Regions from separate parts of the Homo sapiens genome. Here regions 1 and 3 are each linked to region 2. Evidence: promoter capture Hi-C in 16 types of primary human blood cells and fetal thymus (Javierre and others, 2016). All regions are on one chromosome and are shown on one strand. The core of a region is centred on a gene start or on the middle of the fragment in contact, and the rest is flanking DNA. Distances in the headings are between cores, read along the strand shown. Region 1 holds the start of DRD4 (dopamine receptor D4). Region 2 holds the start of BET1L (Bet1 golgi vesicular membrane trafficking protein like). Region 3 holds the start of MIR210HG (MIR210 host gene).

Region 1 (3,032 bases), core at 445-2,944, 430 kb after region 2:
TGGGGTTGTCTGTCTTTTCTCATTGTTTCCATTGTTTCTGGATCTGTGTGTCAGAGATGTGTGCTGCACACATCCTTTCTCCGCCTAGCTTGGTTTTCACTCTTGGTGGTCGCAGACATCTTGGGGGCTACTTGAAGGAACTCTAAGCCGACCAGAGGCTGGGCTGGACTCGCCGTTTGGCGCCCAGCCGGAGACCCCAGGGCCACCCTCCCCGGTTCCATCCTGGGAGAGAAGAAACTTCCACTGTCCCAGTCTCTCCTGTGGTGACTTCTTTTGCTCAAGGGTTCACAAGGGCAGCAGACTGATCTGCACAAGAGGGACTGAGCCTGGCTGCGGCCGCACCTGATGCCTGTGCACACCTGTCCCTGGTGGTCTCTCCTGTGGTGACTTCTTTTGCTCAAGGGTTCACAAGGGCAGCAGACTGATCTGCACAAGAGGGACTGAGCCTGGCTGCGGCCGCACCTGATGCCTGTGCACACCTGTCCCTGGTGCAGGCCCTTCCCCCGCAGCCCCGTGACCTTGTCCTGTGAGGCTCACGGTGCCTGCTCCTTCTCAGAGTCCTCATTTCTCCCTTTAACGCACGCCCTGTCAGCGCCTCCGTCTAGCCCGTGTCCTCCAGACCTTCGAGGTCAGGGGCCTCAATTCCTGGCACAGCCCCTCCACTCCAGGCCTCCCAGAAACAGACTAGAGCATCAGGATGTGCGCCGCCTGGGGTCCCACAGAGTGGTGCCCCCTTTTAGTGTCTTCTAGGCCCCTTAGTGACAGACTACAGAAAATACCTCTCAGGTCACAGGTCACCCCTCTTTGGTGAAGAGTCCATAGAATTCTCTGCTGCGCTTTGCAAGCACTTTCTCTTCTGCACGTTTGGAACCTACCCCGGCCTGTCGTGTCTTTCTCCTGGCCTCCTCGCGAGCCGAACCTACTGTCCGGTCCCGGGACCCCCTGCCCAGGGTCAGAGGGGCGCCTACCTAGCTCACGGTCTTGGGCCGGAGGGAATGGAGGAGGGAGCGGGGTCGACCGCTCAGCTGTCCGCCCAGTTTCGGAGGCGGCCACGCGAGGATCAACTGTGCAACGGGTGGGGCCGCGGCTGACCGTGGTGGTCGCGGGGGCTGAGGGCCAGAGGCTGCGGGGGGGGGGCGGCGGGATGAGCTAGGCGTCGGCGGTTGAGTCGGGCGCGGAGTCGGGGGCAGGGGGAGCGGGCGTGGAGGGTGCGCACGAGGTCGAGGCGAGTCCGCGGGGGAGGCGGGCAGAGCCTGAGCTCAGGTCTTTCTGCGTCTGGCGGAACGGGCCTGGGAGGGAGGTTTTGCCAGATACCAGGTGGACTAGGGTGAGCGCCCGAGGGCCGGGACGCACGCACGGGCCGGGTAGGATGGCGCTGGCGTCGATGCCCGCGCGCTTCAGGGCCTGGTCTGGCCGCCCCTCCATCCTTGTCGGTTTCTCGGGTCGCGGACCCCGCGCGGCGCCGGGCGATGCTGGCCTGCCCGTGGCCACCACCTCGCTTCATTCCCGTCTCTTTGGGCCGCCGCATTCGTCCACGTGCCCGTCTCTCCCTGCGCAAAATTCCAAGATGAGCAAATACTGGGCTCACGGTGGAGCGCCGCGGGGGCCCCCCTGAGCCGGGGCGGGTCGGGGGCGGGACCAGGGTCCGGCCGGGGCGTGCCCGAGGGGAGGGACTCCCCGGCTTGCGACCCGGCGTTGTCCGCGGTGCTCAGCGCCCGCCCGGGCGCGCCATGGGGAACCGCAGCACCGCGGACGCGGACGGGCTGCTGGCTGGGCGCGGGCCGGCCGCGGGGGCATCTGCGGGGGCATCTGCGGGGCTGGCTGGGCAGGGCGCGGCGGCGCTGGTGGGGGGCGTGCTGCTCATCGGCGCGGTGCTCGCGGGGAACTCGCTCGTGTGCGTGAGCGTGGCCACCGAGCGCGCCCTGCAGACGCCCACCAACTCCTTCATCGTGAGCCTGGCGGCCGCCGACCTCCTCCTCGCTCTCCTGGTGCTGCCGCTCTTCGTCTACTCCGAGGTGAGCCGCGTCCGGCCGCACGAGCATCCTCACCTGCTCCTCGGTTCCCCGTCCCTGTCCCTACGGAGGACCCGGCGCGACCCGGCCCCTTTCTGGTGCGGAGCTTCCAGCTGGGGCGGCGGCAGGGGCGCTGCGCCTTGTCCCTCGGCGATACACCCACCGCCGCCACCTCGCGACCTTCCACCCGCTGCGCTGTCTGTCCCCCGACCCTCGTTCCTCTTCTCCTTCCCCGTCTGTCTTGGCGTCTGTTATCCAGGAGATGCCCGTCCTTCTATCCAGGGACCCCGGAAACAGGCGACTTTGTCAAGCCCAGTCCCCTCCGTAGCTGGATTTCACCTCCAGGGCAGCCAGCTGGACAGACAGGCAGATGCAGGCTCAGCCCCCTGGCTGCCGTGGGACACACACACACACACACTGCCACAGCCACTGCCCACCACACACACCTAGTGCAGATGCTGGCACACCCCCAGAAGGAGGCTCACAGCTCGCAGGGGAGACCTGGGCTGGACAAAACCCAGGGGAGGGGAGGGTGTGTGGGGACCAGGCCCCTGCTGAGAACCCTGGGGGGAAGCCTGAGGGGGAATTGGGGGATGGAGCCCACACTCCACACCAGGTCTGGCCCTCGAGTGGGTCGGCCTTGGTGCCAGCCCCTCTGCGGCCAGAGAAAAGCAGCTTAGGGCTGAGCTGGAGACGCGGTGTCCCCGACTGTGGGGGAGGGGGACTCGAGGTTTCCCCTTGATGGACACAGTGAATCCAGGCGGCTGGGGCAGAGACCAGCAGCACGGGACACGCGTGACCTGTGCTCCTTTCGAGCCGCAGACGTCACAGTGACGACGTTTAAGCTCCTAATCTCCCCAAATCGGCGGGAAGGATTAGAGGGGCTGCCTGCTCCTTTGCCCTTGGAGAGAGTCACTCCACGTGGAGTCCTACGCTGGGCACTGGGCACGGTCTTCATATTTTTAATTATAATTTATCTTCAAGACAATTATGATGTGGATACTATCATCACCCTTGTCT
Region 2 (2,887 bases), core at 1-2,500:
ACCAAGGTTCCAGCAGGTGAATCTTGCACATGAGACAGGCTGCATAAAGGACGATGTGTGTAAGGGCCTGTCATGTGAACACATGTCCTGTGTACACATCAAGGTGGGGATGGGCAAGCACCCACAATGGGTTCGGTCCAACCAGCACCTTCTGAGACTGTGTAGCAAAAACTGGACCCAGCCCTGGGGTGCTAGTATGATGTGACACTTGCATCCAGGGAGGTCACCATCTGTGTATGTGGAGCCCATTCTTATAGAAAAAGAGTAAACTCTGCTAAGAGCATAGAAAAGACTTGGGAAAAGTACCCAGCAAGGCAGCAGAAAGGCTCCTGCAGAGACGACCTTTGAGCTAGGTCCTGAAGAGGTGGCAAGGAACCAGGACAGAACATTGGGAAGGCCCTTTACCGCACAGAAAATGGCTGAGCAAAGTTCCCAATTTCCCCGAGACGGGAGCTGAGGTCGACCAGGAGCGGGATCCTTGGTCTGCATCCCGCATGGGGCTTCCTGCAACACCCAGGGCAGAGTGCTCGCAGAGGCCTGGCCTGTGACAGGCTGGGCCAGGGGATAAGGAAGTTCTGTCACATCAGGTGCGTGAGAACCACCTCCTCCCTAGCTTCAGTGTCAGGAAGGGATGCCAGCGTCCTTCCAGCCACTTCATATTTATAAATTCCTTTAATCATCATAACACCTCACAGAGACAGGCATCAATATCCCACTTTGCAGACAAGAACACGGGCTCCAGGAGGGGAAATGGGGCCACCGAGGCCAAAGTAAGAGTCCTGCTTGGACACCAGCGGAGCACAGCCTCTACTCCTAGGGCCTGGCCTCGGGACCTGTCGAATGCCGACTCCCGCTCACCCCGAACCCATGCAGAACGATCTCACAGGGGGCGGCGGGGAGTGGGGAGACCCCGCTGCTGCGCGACCCCTCGCTGGAGCTGCTGGGCCGCCACGCGCGCCTTCGGTCCTAACGGCAGTGCCGGCCGAAACCCGGCCCTGCTCGGACCCGGAAGGATCCGAATCCGCCCCCCTGACAGGGTCCTCTCGGCCGAGGTCACCCCAGCTGGGCCAGAGGCAGGCGCACGCGGCTCTACAGGCAGCGGCGTCGGTTTCGGCCCGGCCCTGCCCCCAACGGCTCCGCTCTCCCGCGCTCACCCCGAGCCCAGTCCGCCATCGTGCCCTGCCCCGGCTCCTCGACGCGGACACCGACGCGGCCACAGCCGCCTCAGACGTGGCGCAGTCGCGGGGAAAGAGCTTCCGGCCCCGCCCCCAGCTAGCGATGGCCCCGCCTCCGCACCGACCACGCCCCTAGATAGCCCAGCCCCTTCCGCTTCGGGCTCGCTGACTTCCGGCTTAGGGCCGAGGGTGGGGAACTGCCGGGCGCGGAAGCGATGGGCATATCTGTGGCTTATTTTCAGCACTGTCGCGCAGACAGTGGCGCGATCTCAGCTCACTGCAGCCCCCGCCTGCCGGGCTCCCAAGGTGCTGGGATTACAGCAGCACCGCGGATGTGACGTTTGGTGTTCCTGTGAACGTGGGGCGGGGCGGGGCCGTTTGCTTGCTCAGTGCCTAGACGATGGTGGTGGAAAGACGCTTCTGTGGGTTAGGTCCTAACGGTTAGGAAGGATTCACAGGCGGGTCATGAGGAAGGAGCAGACCCCTCGGGCAGAAGCCCGCGAGGAGCACTGGGTGTGGTGGGGGCAGGGGTGCCTCCTCTGTCAAGTGGAGATCGGCGCCTCGCTCGTGCCTGCGAGTGCGCGCCGCGTCGAATACAGCCGTACAGAACGCACTACAGGAAAGTGAAGCCGGGAGAGAGACTGGGAGGCGGCGCGGGGACTGGGGGCCGTAGACGCCTTTGCTCCCGGGCACTTGTTAGAAGAGCGAGTGGATCGCGCTTCCTGTGCGTCACTGAATCCTCATGACGGCCACTGAAACGGACACGCAGGATCTTTGCTTTTCAAGAGGGAACTGAGTCCAGGCCAGACTGGGTTGCTCCCCTTTCTCTCGGCCCCTCCACCTTTGCAAGTGCTGCTCCTTCTGCCTGGAGTGGCTCCTCCAGTCTTTTCCCGGCTCACTTCCCACCGTCCGGTGTCAGCAAAAACAGCACTTCCTCACAGCCCGTTGCAGCCCAGCAGTCGCCTTTTGCTTCTTTTGAAGCACAGCCCTGTGACCGCCTCGTGTCCTTTTGTTTTTCCTTGTCCCCCTTCCCCTCTGGAACATAAGCTCCACAAAGGCAGGGACCTGGGAATCCCGTTCGCCTGCATTCCCCAGCAAACGCCTAACGAACCCAATGGCCCAGGACTGAAAATTCCTTTCCACTTCGGCTTTCCCCTCTACATCCCATCGGTTCTGTGGAGCTCGAGGGGCGTCACTGTGTGTGTGGCAGGGCACGGTGGGGGCTGAGATCGTTTCCTGTTGGAACTTCTGGCCCAAGAAGCGCGGGTCACAAGGAGAGGGGTCAGTTCGGTTCAGAGCGACTCAGCCCCTCGACTCGGGTCTTAAAACCTCCGAGCCGCCAGTTCTGCCTCAGGCCGCGCCCCCTTAAAGCGCCACCAGACGCTGCGCCCCGTTAAAGCGCCACCAGACGCCGCGCCCCGTCCCGGCCTCCCCCGCGCGCTGGCGCGGGGCTTTCTGGGCCAGGGCGGGGCCGGCGAACTGCGGCCCGGAACGGCTGAGGAAGGGCCCGTCCCGCCTTCCCCGGCGCGCCATGGAGCCCCGGGCGGTTGCAGAAGCCGTGGAGACGGGTGAGGAGGATGTGATTATGGAAGCTCTGCGGTCATACAACCAGGAGGTAAGCGGCCGCCTGAGGCCGGGGGGCGGGCACGGAGGGGGTGGGGCAGGGTCGTGCGCGGGTAGCAGGGAGGGCGTGGGTGAGGCAGAGGCTGTGT
Region 3 (3,168 bases), core at 293-2,792, 360 kb after region 2:
GGTGTGAGCCACCACACCCGGCCTCTCACTGGCTGTTTCAGGTGAACCAAATCCCATGGCCCCAAAAAGTGGCCAGAGTGCTTCAGATCACTCAGCAAACCTTTGAGTTGCTGAAAAGTTTACTTTTGAGTTTTAAACTGTACTTTGAAAACTATATTGTGAACTGTGTTGACATGAGGAAAGGCTGGGCTCCCTGAAAACATCCAGTTCCACAGCAGGGCGGGCCCAAGCCCAGCCAATCCCCAGGCAATGCAGGGCAGGGATCCCACCTGGTGTAAGTACGGGCAGAGGGCAGAGCCAGGCTGTATCGAGGGGCGGCGCTGGGACCCTCCTCGCCCAGAGTTCCTACTCATCCCCAGCACAGAAGTGCTCTGTAGGGCCAGCTGAGGACACCCCGGTTCACTGAGGGTGGCCCACAGTAAGTCGCCGTCTGGCAGTAAGTTAGCTCTGCAGGTGTGGACCCCAAGACCACACACAGCCTTTCTCAGGTGCAGGTCCTGCCAAGCCTCACTTCGCAGTGGTGACAGGCAACCCCGTCAGGGCAGGGAGCTTCCAAAGGCCAGTCCGAGTCCATGCCAGGCGTCCACTAAATCTGCCTCTCCCTCTCCAGCGAGCAGGTGCAGCCCTCAACTCCTGCAGGCCTGGGGAGCGGAGACAGGGCCTGTAGGCTCGGACACGACCCGGTCCTGATTTTAACAGTAGACTTGAGAAGGCAGGCTCAGCAGACAGGCTGCTGGAGGATCCACCCGCTGTCTCCCGCAGCGGCCCCACTGAAGCGGCAGAAACACACAGAAGCACCAAATCTGTCACTCTCTTCCCGTAGGAAGTCCCCAGAGGTGGCCCTCCGGAGGATGGTCCTGTTGGCTGAAGATATGACCACACCTGTGCCTGCCCAGGGCCACCTTCAGCTTGGCAACAGGAACTCCGCACACTGGTACCCTGGACACACAAGGAAAAGAAAGTTCCCTCCAAGAGGGTATCTGGCCCAGCCTCAGCCCCACCAAGCGGAGGGCAGCAAAGCCCCCGAATGATTTCGCTTACCCCCACCCGCCGTCCCTGCTGGCCAGACAGGCACACCCCGTCCATAGGGCACCCCCTCCCCACGGTATCCAGCTGCCCTCGCGTCCCCGTGTGGCCGCTCGCCTGCCCGCCAGACCCGGACACGGGGCCAGGAGGGTCGCGCTGCCCAGGCACAGATCAGCCGCTGTCACACGCACAGTGGGTCTGGGGCAGCGCAGTGTGCGGTGGGCAGGGGCTGCCCTGCGCCTGGAGGCACTGCCGGGTGGGCGGGCGGAGGGATTGACCCCACCCCCGTCCCCTCCAACTTGGGCGTCCGAGCCCCGCCGCGCCTGCCCAGCCCGACCCCCCGCAGCCCCCGCGGGAGGGCGGCCTCTGAGGGGCGCCCCGCCCGCCAACCTGGGATCCCTCGCGCGTCACCTGCGACCCCGGCGCGGGGCCGTCGCCGGCTCTCGGCCCAACTTCAGCTGCGGCCGCTGGCACCCTCTCGCCCCCCGGCCCGACCCGACCGGCCCCGGGCCCCGCGGCTCCACGCCCAGCCCCGTATGCAAATGACCTGGTCCCTCAGCCAATGGCCGGCCTAGCCGGGCCCGCCCTACCGCAACGCAGCCAGTGGGCGCGAGGGGGGTTCGCGACGCCCCGCCCACCGCCGCGCGGCCCTTCGCGGGCGAGGCCGGCGCGTTCTTTTCTGCACGTCTGCCCGGGGAGGGGCGGCACCTGCCGGGCGGGGCCTGCGGGGCGCCAGCTGCGAGGGCGCGGCGGGGCCAGGGCGCGTCCCCCGGCCGGGCGGATGGTACGGCCCGAGGTGGTCCTCCTCCCGCCGCGCGGTGGTATGGCCCGGGCTCGCGGGGCTTCCGGGCTGGGCGTGGGGCGCAGCCTGGCGACGGGTCCTCCGCCCGCGGGTGTGCGTGGGGCGGCAGGGCCGGCCGGGAGCTGCCCCTCTTCCCGCGGCGCGGTGGTACGACCCGGCCGCCTCCGTGCCCCGCACCCGCGTCCCGCGGGCCCGCCCCCCCCAACCCGCTGGGCGCCCGGCGCACGTATCCCGGGCCGTGACCCGGGTGGGGCCTGCGCGGGCCCGGACACGGCGTCCTCGGGACGCACGCACCACCCCCCGGGCGGCTTGGGGTCCCCAAAGGACGCCCGGGTCCGTCCTGCTGGCGAAGAGGGGGCTCTGGCTCTGCCTGGTTTGCCTGGCGACCCCCACGGGGCGCCCTTGGGGGCTCTGGGTCCCTCCTGCGCGCTCTGTCTCCGCGGAAGCCTCTGGAGCCTGGAGGGGGTGCCTCAAGGGCTCAGGGGTCTTCGCAGCCCTGTGCCGGTCTTTGAGGGGACGAGGCGAGAGAATCCTGTCTGTGCGCTGAAAACGTGTAAAATCAAAGGAGCCTTGACGGTTTGACCTTCGTTAGGACTCGCAGGGCCAGCTTCAGACGTGGAAGTATCGGACTCCGGGGTGGGGCTCCAAAGTGGCAGCCAAAGGAGATTTGGCCGCCGGCCCCCCTTGGCACTGTCACCCTGGTCCTCGGCCCCGGGCCGTCTCCCCTCAGCTCCCTGGCCCTAAACTCACCGCCCTGCTCTTTGTCCTCCCCTGGCCCCATGACCTCCCTGCCTCGGCATCCGCGCAGGCCTGGGCCGCAGCCTGCCCCCTGCCCCAGCCCCGGCGGCAAAGTGCTGGGGCCCCAGGGAGCTTCCGAACCAGCCCATGTCCTCAGGGGCTTGAAGGCTGGGGACAAAAATTCAGATGCAGAGTCTGGGGTGACTCAGACATGATCAGCAAGACATGACCGAGGTCTTGCTGACCCCTTGACCCTTGGCCCCCGATAGAACCGAGTGGCTCCTTGCACCTGTGGCTGCCTGTGGATGGGGAAGGTGCCCAGAGGATCACGGAGCCACTCGGTTCTATTGGGGGTCAGGGGTCAGCAAGACCTCGATCCTGTGGGTCGTGAAGGAGCCTCTAAGAGTCAGTGGGGTCCCTGAGAAGGCCCACGTCTTCATGGCAGGGCAGAGGCTCCTAGGGCAGTCAGACTAGGGGACAAGAAGGGGCAAGAGGACAGGGCAGCTCTGTGTTCCTGTCGTGCCCTGCTGACGTGAACCCACTTCTGCCCCCAGTCCTGCCAATTTCACAGGCACCTTTTCTCAGCATCTGTAGTGAGTGGG

Evidence for each region. The method cuts DNA at HindIII sites, captures the fragments that hold promoters and counts their contacts. A CHiCAGO score of 5 or more calls a contact.
Region 1: a contact is called between the fragment with the promoter of DRD4 here and the fragment with the promoter of BET1L in region 2, in 7 of 17 cell types (total CD4 T cells, fetal thymus, monocytes and 4 more). The highest score is 7.2, in total CD4 T cells.
Region 3: a contact is called between the fragment with the promoter of MIR210HG here and the fragment with the promoter of BET1L in region 2, in 4 of 17 cell types (naive CD8 T cells, total CD4 T cells, fetal thymus and 1 more). The highest score is 6.6, in naive CD8 T cells.

What each region holds. Positions count from the first base shown.
Region 1 is chr11:635,575-638,606 of GRCh38, forward strand. DRD4 (dopamine receptor D4) reads left to right here and starts at 1,695. Exons shown (of 4, transcript NM_000797.4): 1 at 1,695-2,015. The coding sequence starts at 1,731. RefSeq lists enhancers at 1-512, 513-1,046, 1,582-2,115, 2,116-2,650, 2,651-3,032. The HindIII fragment of the contact is 12,616 bases long and covers 1-3,032 here.
Region 2 is chr11:206,149-209,035 of GRCh38, forward strand. It overlaps BET1L (Bet1 golgi vesicular membrane trafficking protein like), which reads right to left and starts at 1,251. Exons shown (of 4, transcript NM_001098787.2): 1 at 1,155-1,251. The coding sequence starts at 1,173. It overlaps RIC8A (RIC8 guanine nucleotide exchange factor A), which reads left to right and starts at 1,560. Exons shown (of 10, transcript NM_001286134.2): 1 at 1,560-2,790. The coding sequence starts at 2,707. RefSeq lists enhancers at 1-166, 477-978, 1,525-2,146, 2,002-2,171, 2,147-2,766 and 1 more and silencers at 923-982, 1,093-1,212, 2,274-2,472, 2,473-2,762, 2,833-2,887. The HindIII fragment of the contact is 6,341 bases long and covers 1-2,887 here.
Region 3 is chr11:566,915-570,082 of GRCh38, forward strand. It overlaps MIR210HG (MIR210 host gene), which reads right to left and starts at 1,543. Exons shown (of 2, transcript NR_038262.1): 1 at 1,438-1,543; 2 at 1-939. MIR210 (microRNA 210) reads right to left here and starts at 1,284; the gene lies at 1,175-1,284. RefSeq lists an enhancer at 2,475-3,168. The HindIII fragment of the contact is 23,407 bases long and covers 1-3,168 here.